Regions from separate parts of the Homo sapiens genome. Here regions 2 and 3 are each linked to region 1. Evidence: promoter capture Hi-C in human tissues and cell types (Jung and others, 2019). All regions are on one chromosome and are shown on one strand. The core of a region is centred on a gene start or on the middle of the fragment in contact, and the rest is flanking DNA. Distances in the headings are between cores, read along the strand shown.

Region 1 (4,100 bases), core at 1,149-3,648:
CTGTAATCCCAGCTACTTGGGAGGCTGAGGCAGGAGAATCGCTTGAACCCAGGAGGCGGAGGTTGCAGTGAGCCGAGACCGCGCCACTGCACTCCAGCCTGGGCAAGAGAGCAAGACTGCATTTAAAAAAAAAAAAAAAAAAAAAAAAAAAAAACTTTCCCTGTTTTATATTTCTCAATGTTAAGATAAGTTTACCCAAAGTTTGAAACAACTGATAACTTCTGGTCTGCAAGATCCCTACGGCATTAGATCTCTAAAACAGAAACCAACAACATATAATATTACAAGATATAACAGTATGTATATTATAGTTCCTGAGTTTAAGGACATCAGTAACTTGATTTAAAAAAAAAGAAGTCATGCTCAAACATACGACTCAAAGTTTTCAAGCCATATTTTACAAAGATTGTGTTTTTTGGTTCGTATGCTATAATTACTATTTAAACTCATCGCTTATATTTGAAAATAACTTGTGTGAAATCATCAAGGGAAAAGGGGTCAGTCGCCTAGAGACACCACATTAAACTCACTCTTTAAGGCCATCATAAATACAGGTAACTTGGAATCAGAAAAAAAAATTCAAATTCACAGTAAGCCTAAGTAAAAATTCAACAAAGATATATCACAATATATATATAAAAGCAAAATGGAAACACGTTTAACCTTGATAGAAAAAAAAAATGAAAAGCAAAGTTTAAAATGGAAACTACCGAAATTGAGAAAGAATTCCAATGACATGACATTTTCTTGCCAAAGCGAAGGAATTTGTAGATTATATCATTCAAATCTCATTGTATTACATTATAAAGGTCTTAGCAACGGTTGGCCATTAATCTTTAACACAAAGGAGATTCAAATCCAAATGAACTGTAAGACTATCTCTTCCAGGAGAGAGAAATGGAGTAATTTACTTTATCCACAATTGTTTAACCCAAAAGGAAGGCCTTTAAGGATGATAACGCAGAATGGATCAGCCTTCAGTCTACCAAGTCCCATTTCACACGAAGTCTTGCACCAATCCGAAAAGAGAAGGTTATGGACACAGAACAGGTTTAGGAAAGGCTGGAAAAAAAATCTCCAATGAATGACACACCACATCACGGTTTATTCTCCTACACAATTTGAGAAACAATAAAGAAAAATATCATACCATATGTTTCATCGTATCAATTAAAAAAATATTTTACGACAGTACATTCAATTCTTCGGGGCCGCAAAAATAATTTAGCTCCTGTTTTATTGAGTACAGAGCAAAGGGAAAAAGCAGCTGCTGCAATGCAACACAGGCTGCTACAGAGAAAGGGGAGAAAAGGCTTTTCCAAACAGATCCCTTCCCCGCCCCCGCTTACACACCCCTACCAACTTACTTATCCCAGTCTTTTACTGCCCCCACCACGTGAACCTAATCAATTCTTTCCCTTCCCCCACCATCGTGAAATTTCACCTTTCACAGCTCCTTCACCTACCCCTACCAGAGGCACTTTATTACCCGCAGAGATTTCAGACCTTTCAAACTTTTCTTCCTTTTTTAATTAAACACGAGAGTTCGGAGGCAAAAGTGCATGAAATTTTTACATATATACGAAAAAATACCTGTTTCCCAGCAACACGCACGCTTCGATTCTCGAACCCCTCCCCATCTCCCGGGTTTCGCTTGCAAAGGCTTGGGGGAGGGAGCCAGGCGCAAATTAAATTTAGGAAGGGAAATCCTGGGTGAAAGAAGAGCATTTGAGGAAAAATGAGAGAACGATGAAGCGAGACCCCCAAACCACACGGGTTGGGGAGGTTTCCAAGAAAGAAAGAGAAATTGGAAGGGACAAAAGGCGGAGGGGGGAGGAACAGACCGGAGACCAGGGGAGACGCGCCGGGCCGGGAGAGGGAAGGCGGGGTCCGAGGAGAACGGGGGTCGCGGCTCCCGCGGCACAATGGCCCGCCCGGCCCCCGCCCCGCGCGCCCCTCACCTCATGGTGCCGGCGGCGCAGAGGCTTCCCCACCAGCCGGGAGACGCAGAAGGCGCCGAGCCGAGGGGGGGGTCTCTCCTCCAGGGGTGGGGAGCAGCTCGGAGACGGGAGACAAGTGTCCGGCTCCTCCTTCGGCGGCCAGGGGGCTACACCATCTCCTCGCACAAAGCCGAGGCGCCGGCCGGGAGTGTGGGAGAAGAGGGCGAGAGAAAGGCTGGGGAGGGGGCGGAGAGGCCGAGGCGCGGAGCTGGTCCCCAGGCGGCCGCCGCCTCCCACCTCCTCGTGGTCCTGCTCCTCCTCCCGGAGCTTCCTCGGCCGCCCTCTGAGGGGTGCCCGCCGGGGCCGCGCGCCCGGCCGCCGCTCCACAGGCCCGCGCTCGCCGCGCCGCCGCCGAGGCCGTGTGCAACCGGCAGCTGCTGCAGCCGCGGGAGGAGAGTCGGGATCGCCGCGAGGAACCCGGGAGGAGGCGGGGCGCGCGGCGGAGGAACACGCAGGCGCCGCCCTCCTCCCCTCCTTCCCCCGGGGGCGAGGGGGCGGTGCGGGGGGAGGGGAGGAAAGGGGAGGCGGGGGGCCGGGCGCACTCCCCCGCGCCGGCGGCCGGGCCCCCGCCGGACTGCGGAGAGCGAGGCTGGGAGAGAGCGAGCGCGACGGCGGCGGCGGCGGAGAGAGGCTCTTTGTTGCCTCCCTACCCCGCCCCCTGCACCCCTCTGGGATTCGGGCGGGCCACCACCCCCCCCTCCCGCCCAACACCTCCGGCCAGTTGTCGGCCGGGGTTCCTCGCCCGTGGTTGTCCTTGACCGTCGGCCCCCTCCCCGTCGCCTCCCGCTCCCCAGAGGCTTGGGGAGCTCCGAGGCCTCCCCCACGGCCACGGTGCGGAGACCGAGGCGCCGAGACCTCCTGGGCGCCAGACCCGTAGGCACCGGCGTGGGGAGCTTGGACGCGTGACTGGGCACAGGGCCGGGCCAGGAGACTCCGGGTCGGCTCGCGGCCGGGTGCCCTCGCGCGGGGCGAGTGCTCAGCCCGCCCTGTTGCGGTCTCAGGACGGGGATGAGGGAATCGGGGGGCATCCCGGTCAGCCCAACTGCCCGCCCTCGCCGCGGCTGCGCCCAGCGATTCCTGCGGAGTTGAGGAGGGGCATATAAATGGAAAATATGGTCATCATTGTTCCCTTCGCTCCTTTTCTTCCCGAGGAATCCCAGCGTGCTGCGCCGATGGAACGAGTTGATGTGCACACTAGGTATAGGGATGACTTCATCCCCAAACGAACGCAGCCGACTCTCGGGGAAACGCAGTCGCCGGGAGACGCGCGCGGAACAGTGTGTTGCCGCAAGAGTGGAAGAAGAGAAACGCAGCCAGTGGAGCCGCTTTCCAGCGTCATTAGCAAAGAGGGAATCCCGGGCAGGGGGCGGGGAGAGAGAGGAACTAATGATAATTTTAAATTTTTCGTCATTCCCAATGGTCTTGAAGTCACCTCCCTTAAAAAGTAGATATAAAATACTGGCGAGGCAATTTCATTTCAAGTCAAGTCGGGGAGGAGGGCATCCAGGAAGCCAGAATTGATCGTTGTTGAAGGTTTTGTTTTCGGTTTTTTTTAAATCTAAAAACAAATCCAATAATAAAATTTTTAACTGTACGAATTACGGCCCCCTTTTAGTCCGGAAGACAGGGATGTACTTTCTGTATAAAAGGTGAGGAGGATAGAAAAGGGTTGTTGCTACAGGGATCCTATTGCTGAAGGATCTCATCCAAAATGGAGGACCTACCATGACTCCAGGAATCCATTCAAAAGTTTTGGTGTTTTGTTTTAAGATGCAGGTACCATTCAAAAGATAGTTAGGAAGGTTGGGATAATGTACACTTCCAAATGAAAAGACAGGTTATAGTGATCCGTGGTCAATGCCTGATTTGTCTATAATTGAACTGTGTAGCCCATTTTTAACCATAAAAAAAGCTTCCTGGTTTCAGCCGGGTGCGGTGGCTCACGCCTGTCATCTCAGCACTTCGGGAGGCTGAGGCAGGCGAATCATCTGAGGTCAGGAGTTCCAGACCAGCCTGGCCAACATGGCGAAACCCTGTCTCTACTAAAAATAAAAAATAAAAAAACAGCCGGGCGTGGTGGTGCACGCCTGTAATCCCAGC
Region 2 (4,100 bases), core at 709-3,208, 230 kb after region 1:
CCAGGCTGAGGAGAAGGCAGGGGGAGGGGAGCACCCAGCTGGCAGCTGTATAGAGGAGGCCAAACCAGCAGCTAGGCACTGTGGTTGAAGTGGCACTGCCTGGCTGAGAACCCCTGGCAATATTCAGTCATCCTAGATGTATGTGAATGCCTAGCACTTACCTGTGCCTTCCAGAAATTCTCCATTCATCCCCTTATTCCTACTCAATATGCCGAGGGTAGGAAAGCCAAGAATTACTGCTGAGGCCCAAGAGCCAGAGTGGGCAGCAGGTGACTTCACGCTCCCAACCCAAAGTTCAACCCATGTGCAGGCAAGCGTCTGATTGTGGCCAGTGGGAGAGGGCTAAATCCAACAGCTGGTCTAAATTTGCCAAAGTAAACTACCTATGCTAATCCACTGCCAGTCTCCATTGGCAGCAAGGACTGGCCTGGTGGTCAACTTGACAAGCTCTAGAAATACCAGCAGAATGTTGCAGGAAGTATATGGATATTGTTCGTTCTTGCAAGAAGGCCCGTACAAATTCAGGGTAATTTTATCATCACCAAATCTTTCAATCCTGTGATGACAATAGCGAAACTACAAGCAGCTCCAGGCCTTCTGCCTCAGGAGCTAACTCTGGTCTTTCAGATGCAGAATAAGGTTGCAAAGTAAAGTACAAACTTCTCCTTATGGCAACACCAAACAGGACCCAGTAACCTGGACAACTGTTTACCTCCTACCCTGGAGCACAAAGGAAATGACACAGCCCCTGGCTGAAACCAGAGGCAGTGTGGCTCAGGGATTATGTGAGCAGGCTCTGGAGTTAGGGTCTCAGCACCACGCAGTTCAGACAAGCAGCCTAACCACTCTGTGCCTTGGCTTCCTTCGCCAGGAAATGCGAGTGATGACTTTCTCTCACGGAGCTGTTGGGAGGCACAGATCCCAAACAACACCTGTAAAGCACTTAGCCCAGGACCCGGCCCTAGCAAGCAATTAGAAGCTGTCTGCCTTTATTTTAAGTCGCCCCTCCAGCTAATGGGAAACACAAGGGCAGGATCCCACCTGACGTCTTCTCTGTTAGAGCCCAACGAACAGCTAGGAGAGACCTTTGCCCCCACACTAAACAAAGGAGAGGGGCGTGTGAAGGGAAAAGGAGCCTCGGCTTCCGTTCATATCCCCCTTGAAGGCACAGCAGACTTGAGGATGACCTGAGAGGTGTCAAGGGAGGGTCAGTGGGTCCGCCACGCTGTCCACCCCTGCCCTTGAAGAGGACACCACCTGCCTGGGGCTGAATGACCAAGGCCCCTCCAGGGCCTCAGGTAGCTAGTCTTATCAGGTGCTGGAACCTTTGCGGATTTGGTTTCTTAGCAGAGCTCGCCTCACCCTTTCCGCCCCCGCCCTTCCCCCCAGTCCCCGAGTCCCCAGCCTCCCTCCTCAGGACTCCGCCAAGGCTGCAGGAAGTGGTCACCCAGGAACAGCCCGAGGGGTGGCCTCTGCCTTCCTGGCGTCAGGAGAGTCGGACGCTTGGCCCTTTCCCAGCCCGGCCTCGTATAGGGTCCGAGGAGCCCATAGCTGCACTCCTAGTTAGGTGGGAGGTCGGACTCCGCCGACAAATCCCAAAGAGAGGGGTGGGGAAGAAGGAGATACCAGCCCTGAAAGCGAAAAGCCGGAGAGGAAAGTCCTGAAAAGCCGCCAGGAATTCCCAAGGAGCGCAGGGCTGGAATGGAGGCGCTGCCCGGACCCTCTCCTCCCACCCAATCCCGCGTCGTCACCCCCTGCTTGGGGTCGGGGGCTCTGGGGTCTGCGTAGGCTGGGAGCCGTTCCGGAACCGGACACCTGGCGCGCACGTCCCGGGAAAGGCGGAGGGTGCATTGCCCCTCCTCACGCCCCCTGTCCCCTGTACCTGCGGCGGCGGCGTGTCTGGCGGGACCCAGCAGCGCGGGGCGTGTTCCGACCACTTAAAAGTTACAAAGTGAAACTCCGGCGCCTCCTGCACATGCGCAGAGCTGCGGCCACCCCTTTCCCAATTTGGAGTCTTGGCCCGCGGCGGCGCAAGCCTGTACGCAGCTGACTGCGCCTCCCGCGGTGGCCCTCGGCGGTCCTCTGCCCCGGCCTGGCCTCCTGGTCGCCGCTCAGCCCCGCAGCTCCTCCCGGAGGTCTGCAAGCCCCGGACCGGCCAGCTCACGTCCAGGCTCCAAGAAGGGATCCGCCGGGGCGCACCCTCTTCCGTCCCCCGGCACGAGCCCAGTCTCTGGACGCCTCCGGGAGAACTGGGCCAAGCACAGGGTGGTCGCGGCGCAGGGAGAGCATCTGCAAACGTTGGTCCCTGTAGTGCTTTGAATTTCCCCGAAGAGCTCTTAGACCCGCCCCGGGAGAGTGGGGTTGCGGGGGTGGTAGCATGGGGAGCTCAGCAGGATTCAGCCCGCACCTCGGCTCCGGGTAGTCGGGAACCGCGCGGAGCGCCCTGCAAGAGGCCACGGCTCCCCCGCCGCTGTAGAAGGCCGGACCGTGAAAGCCCGGAGGGTCTCCGTTCGGGCAAAAATGTGGGGGCGGGTCGCAGCATTTCCAACGCCCCCTGGGGCTAGTCCATTACTGCTCGAGCCAGGGCCGCCAAGGGCACCTACTCCAGCCCAGGTCCGAGAGCGCGGCATGCCTCCCGGCCGGGAGCCAAATGTTTCCAGGGAGCCGGTGGCCTCCACAACCGGACCGCAAGCTCGCGAGGGCAGGGCCGGCCCGCCGCGCCAGGGACTGCTGGGCGCTGCGCGGGAAGCGAGGCTGGGTTCGGGGAGGACCGCGCGCCCTGGGAATCAAGGAGCAAACCAACCCGTCCGCAGGCCCCTGTTTCCCTATCTGTGAAATGAGTGGTTGGACCAAAGCTTCCTCTCAGGTCCCTTCCAGCACCCCTCTCTGAGCTCTGAGCAGTCCTCACCCCACATGCATGCCTTTGCAGGTTCTCCGACCTCCCTTCCATTTCTGAGCTTTCATCTTTTTCTGTAACGGCATAAAAATATCCTCCTTATGGCCGGGCGCGGTGGCTCATGCCTGTAATACCAGCACTTTGGGAGGCCGAGGTGGGCGGATCACCTTAGGTCTGGAGTTCGAGACCAGCCTGACCCGCATGGAGAAACCCCGTCTCTACTAAAAATACAAAATTAGCCGGGTGTGGTGGCACATGCCTGTAATCCCAGCTACTAGGGAGTCTGAGGCAGGAGAATCGCTTGAACCTGGGAGGCGGAGGTTGCGGTGAGCTGAGATTTCACCATTGAACTCCAGCCTGGGCAACAAGAGCGAAACTCTGTCTCAAAAAAAAAAAAAAAAAAAAAAAAATTCCTCCTTACCTCCCTGTCCCTGATTCTAGCGCCAGTCTGTGGCTGTCCAGGAGTGGGGTGGGGAGGGTCTCTTCCTGCCTCTCTCAGTTCTTTTCTGTCCCATCTGTCTTTCCCCTTCTCTCCCCAAAGCTCTAGCCACTAGTTATTTTCCAGGGTTTTTCCTCTATGCCCCCCGCCAGTATCATCTCTGCCCTTGTCCCTCCATAGCTGCGCCTGGCCATCCCCCCTCCCTGCTCTCTTACCTCCACATCTGACGGTCTGCAGAGTCCTGGGTGTGGCCCCTGGACTCCCCGTTGGCTCCTTAGACTGTCCCTGTCCAATCTTTCTTCCACTCCCCACTCCCGCACCTGCCTGTCCTCCTTCCTTCCTCAATGAATGGTGCCCCCACCTGTCTGGTCTGTGCCATGGGTCCAGGCAAGTGCAAGGTTCCGGTCTTGGTAATTAGAATGCTGGAGCCACTGACAAAGATTTCAGAGAGAGAAAGGATTTCTAAATTTGTTCTTGAGTAGGTTAAGGTTATTTCAAAATCAAGAGAAGGCCTTGATGGATCGATATGTGAGTTGAGATAGCCACAGCCTTTGTTATGTCAGTTGTGTGAAGTGCTTGTAAAATCACTATTTTATTTTTTAATTTTTAATTAATTATTTACTTATTGAGACACAGTCTCACTCTGTCGCCCAGGCTGTAGTACAGTGGTGTGATCTCAGCTCACTGCAACCTCCACCTCCTGGCTTCAAGCGATTCTCCTGCCTCAGCCTCCCAAGTAGCTGGGATTATAGGCATGTGCCACCA
Region 3 (4,100 bases), core at 770-3,269, 140 kb before region 1:
CAAACAGTTTCAGTGGATTAAATGTCCACTGAACTCAGTACTTGCAGGATAAAGTCTAAACTCTTGATAATTTTATAAAAGGCTCTCAACATTTTTGTTTCTAACTCATATTTTCAACCTTTTCCCTACAATATTCCTCAAAAAGAATTCCCCGTTCTAGTCTATTTCCTATTTCCTAATCTCTTCTTGCTCATCTCCAACTCCATACCTTGCTCATGCTATACTTACATCCTGAAATATCACACCTTCCCCTCACTTTCAGCCAAACTAAATACTCTTCAAGGAATACTAAGATGTCACTTTTCCCTACAAAGTTGACTCAGGTGACTCGTATGTGTCATTTCCTCCCTCTGTGACACACTACTTAGTATTCAACAAGTGGTTGTAAAAAGGTTAACTTCACACCTGTGTGTCTCATCTTCCCAGCTGTACCATGAGTTTTTTTGGGCTTAGGACCTGTACCTTTCACTTCAGGTGCCTGACACAATGTCAGTTTAAAAACGGAATGAAACAAGTGAGAAAACAGGCCCTGCCCTTTTTGATTTTATATATATGACACACACACAAAACCTGTGCCTTAGTTTTTCATATTTTATATAAGGGATTATATATTAGATAAGGAATTTTTAACTTGGAGTCCATGGATAACCTTCAAGAAATTCATGAATATTCTGAAATTATGAACAAATCTGAATAAAAATACAATTTTCCTCCCTGGAAAGAGGATCTATAGCTCTCATCATATTCTAAAGGTTCTGTGAGCCCAAAATATGGTTCGGATTTACAACATCTATGCGGTACTAATGAGAGTACATACAATTAATTTTGGCTTACAGAAAGAAGGATAAAGCTAAAATAAGTGGGTCACAAACCAGTGAATTTTTAATGAAAATAACAAACTGAGTCCTATTCAGAGGGAAAACAAAGCCATGATGTTAATTATGGTATAGCAATCAACCTACTGAAGAGTCACCATTTAATAATAAGAATGAGGAATGGGGGGAGTGGTGAAAAGATGGATTACAATCACAAAAACAAAAACTTCAGAGGTACTTAAAAAAAAAAAAAAAAAAAAAGGAATTCTAGGTGGTGCACTGTGGCTCACGCCTGTAATCCTAGCACTTTGGAAGACTGAGACAGGTGGATCACTTGAGCTCAGGAGTTTGAGACCAGCCTGGGCAACATGGTGAAACCCTGTCTCTACCAAAAATCCAAACAATTAGCCAGGAGTGGTGCCATGTGCCTGTGGCCCCAGCTACTTAGGGGGCTGGGGGGCTAAGGTGGGAGGATCACTTGAGCCCAGGAGGTGGGGGTTGCGGTGAGCCAAGACTGCACCACTGCACTCCAGCCTGGGCAACAGAGCAAGACCCCATCTCAAAAAAATTAAAAAAATGAAAATTAAAAAGGGAACTGTAGATGCAGCTGGTTGTCTTTAAATCAAAACTGTAGGAATATAAGCATTTCTCTATAATGGTTTCTTATGGACCACTCTAGATATTAACTCATCAAGTTTATTTATGTCATTTCATTCCAGAATAGATAAGGAGTTCAATAGATAGTCCAGCCCTTAGTCTTTAATCAAATATGAAGAAATAACATGTGAATATGTAATGAGTTCGTATTCTCATCTTGGATACAGTACTCATCAAGTACTTCTAGTGAAATATACTTTTGTTAATATTCTAGGTGATTTATCAGATGCTCAAGAATTCTCAATGTCAGAAATTTCACTGAATTCAAGAACACTTCCCCAAAATTTTAAGGAGACTTTTTAAGTTTACAAATCAGAAACTTTATTCCCTTAATTATCAATATCACCCAAATGAATGGCTAGGACATCCTTCTCAATTTGAGAATGTTCTGAAGCAGACTGTAGTACTAACTAACATGCTCACTTTATTTTTACCTCTAGAAAAACAATTATGAAAAATACTCTTGTCATCTAATAGTACATTAATATTTTCCTTGTTTTAGTAAGTAACCTCAAGAAAGTAACAGCAGCTTCCAGGAGGAAAAAAGTGAATGCTTTCAGGTGGGAACAAAGAACTCTGGCATTTTAGTGTCCAGTCACTTGGTCCAAATATGGGGAAAGGGGGAATTTTTAACTGGGGAGTATTAATATTTAGAGAAAGTTTATAAAGGTTAAAATATTTATCTTGAACTTACCAGGTGTACTTGTTGAAGAGGCCTTAGAAGTTACAGGCTCTGAATCTTCCTAAATATACAGATATATATTAATATCACATCTACCAGTCCCCTGTTGCTATATACATTTAGTGTTTTACACGAACACTTCTAATATTCTTTCTGCCACTCCCCACTTTCTCTTTCATCGGTCTTCTCTCCCTTTCATTTCAGCTTAGACTTTCTTCTCCTGTCTTCAACCATCTTCCCTTCAACCCTCCCCACAGCTCCTTTCCTCATGTGTTCTCCTTGAGAACTTTCACTAGCCAATGCTACAAAGCCAGACACGAGAGACAGATTTGAGGAATGGCATCTAAGGTGGCCAGATGGAGCAGGGGGAACATATTATTTGTTGCACACCAATATACAGCACAGACAAAGCAGAGTTTGCCCAGCTGAATCAGGGAGGAGGGCATGAAGGTTACACTCTGAAGGGGCACAGCCAATAACCATCAAGCTCCTAAGGGAAACATATGAATTTAGGCGAATTCCTTCCTTTTAAATTAATGCAAGGGAACTGAGATTCTAAGAGATGAAAAAAGTAGTGAAATGTCATTCACTCATTTAAGGAACAGAATTAAACTCCACAGGTTTGAACTTCAATGCTTTTCCCATAATTTCACATATTCAACTCACTTTACTAAGACTGCCATTAAAAATTTATAAATAACAGTCAAAACAAGCCACTTCACATGCATAGTTAAAAATTAGCAAATATAAGTTCAAACTAATTAAGCCCAAATTAAATAAATGCTGACACTATTTCCTGAATGAGCTGTGCCTGAATTCCATATTTTAAGGTATGGTAGACTATCTTTATTAACTTACACCTTTGTCCTCTTTTTGTTCTGTTTCTATTGTTGATCCCTTTTCAGCAATTCTTCTCCTACAAAGAAGGCAAATCCGATTTTTAAAAATATTATCTGATTCAGTATAAAAACCACTTCTCTACGAGGAAAGAAGTGCATCTAGTTAGTTGTATTTGGAATACAATTAAAATCCTCTCAATTCTGGGCATGTCCATTATAATGAAATTCCTTACCTCCTGGCCAGCAGGGCACTCATTTCTTCCATTAAACCACTACCCCCTAAAGGAAGGGGTCCATTTCCACGGCCTGTATCTGTTTTAGATGAGGCGGAGTTCACACCAATAGCATTCCCTCCACTTGGGAAAGAGGTATCCTCCATCTTAATGAGAATATACAGACATAATCAACTCCTATGTTAGACAACCATATTTTTATTAATATATTACATCTAAAACAGAAGGAAACATCAGCATTAATTTTAAAAAACCTAAATATTATTTTTTAAGCTTTAAGAACCAATAGATTCTTAGCATGACTTTATATATCAACAAGAGTTTATCAAAACTACTATCACCAAGAATGCAATGAAACAGTATCATGTATCTCTTCCTGTGCTGCCATGAAAAGGGCATGACTTTGCTCTGATAATATTCCTGCTAAAACAACCCCTGCATAACTAGAATCTAATCTTGAGGAAAAATCAGATAAGCCAAAGTGAAGGATAACAGGCAAAATAATTGTCCTACAGTCTTCAAAAATGCCAGTATTATGAAAGATTGAGGAACTGTCATAAAGTATATCAAAGAGACATTATAACTAAATGCAATAAATGATCTTGCACTAGGAAAAAAACTGTCACTAAAGATGTCATTGGACTATAGATGAAATTTGAATAATACATTTGTAGATTACAGTATTCTATCATGTTAACTTTCCTGATTTTGATAATTATATTACTGGTTATGCAGGTAAATGTCCTTGTTCTTATAAAATTCACACTGAGGTACTTAGGAAAATAGAAGCTTGTGTCTCTGAGTTACTCTCAAATCATTCAAACAAAAGTGCATGTGTAGGCCGGGTGCGATGGCTCACACCTGTAATCCCGGC

The links. Contacts are between HindIII fragments. The study calls those that stand out against the background at their distance.
Region 2: the fragment with the promoter of TMEM63A here is called in contact with the fragment with the promoter of ENAH in region 1 in 2 of the 25 tissues and cell types used here (heart left ventricle and psoas muscle).
Region 3: a contact is called between a fragment that was not itself captured here and the fragment with the promoter of ENAH in region 1, in 1 of the 25 tissues and cell types used here (aorta).

The regions. Positions count from the first base shown.
Region 1 is chr1:225,650,725-225,654,824 of GRCh38, forward strand. ENAH (ENAH actin regulator) reads right to left here and starts at 2,399. Exons shown (of 14, transcript NM_018212.6): 1 at 1,962-2,399. The coding sequence starts at 1,966. RefSeq lists a silencer at 2,249-2,378. The HindIII fragment of the contact is 16,817 bases long and covers 1-4,100 here.
Region 2 is chr1:225,880,422-225,884,521 of GRCh38, forward strand. TMEM63A (transmembrane protein 63A) reads right to left here and starts at 1,959. Exons shown (of 25, transcript NM_014698.3): 1 at 1,883-1,959. RefSeq lists enhancers at 1-515, 2,718-2,767, 2,828-2,877 and silencers at 1,368-1,487, 2,048-2,207. The HindIII fragment of the contact is 9,047 bases long and covers 1-3,557 here.
Region 3 is chr1:225,509,645-225,513,744 of GRCh38, forward strand. It overlaps ENAH (ENAH actin regulator), which reads right to left. Exons shown (of 14, transcript NM_018212.6): 8 at 3,227-3,372; 9 at 3,013-3,070; 10 at 2,167-2,215. Among named protein-coding and RNA genes, the nearest start is that of LINC02765, 44 kb to the left of the region's middle. The HindIII fragment of the contact is 3,476 bases long and covers 282-3,757 here.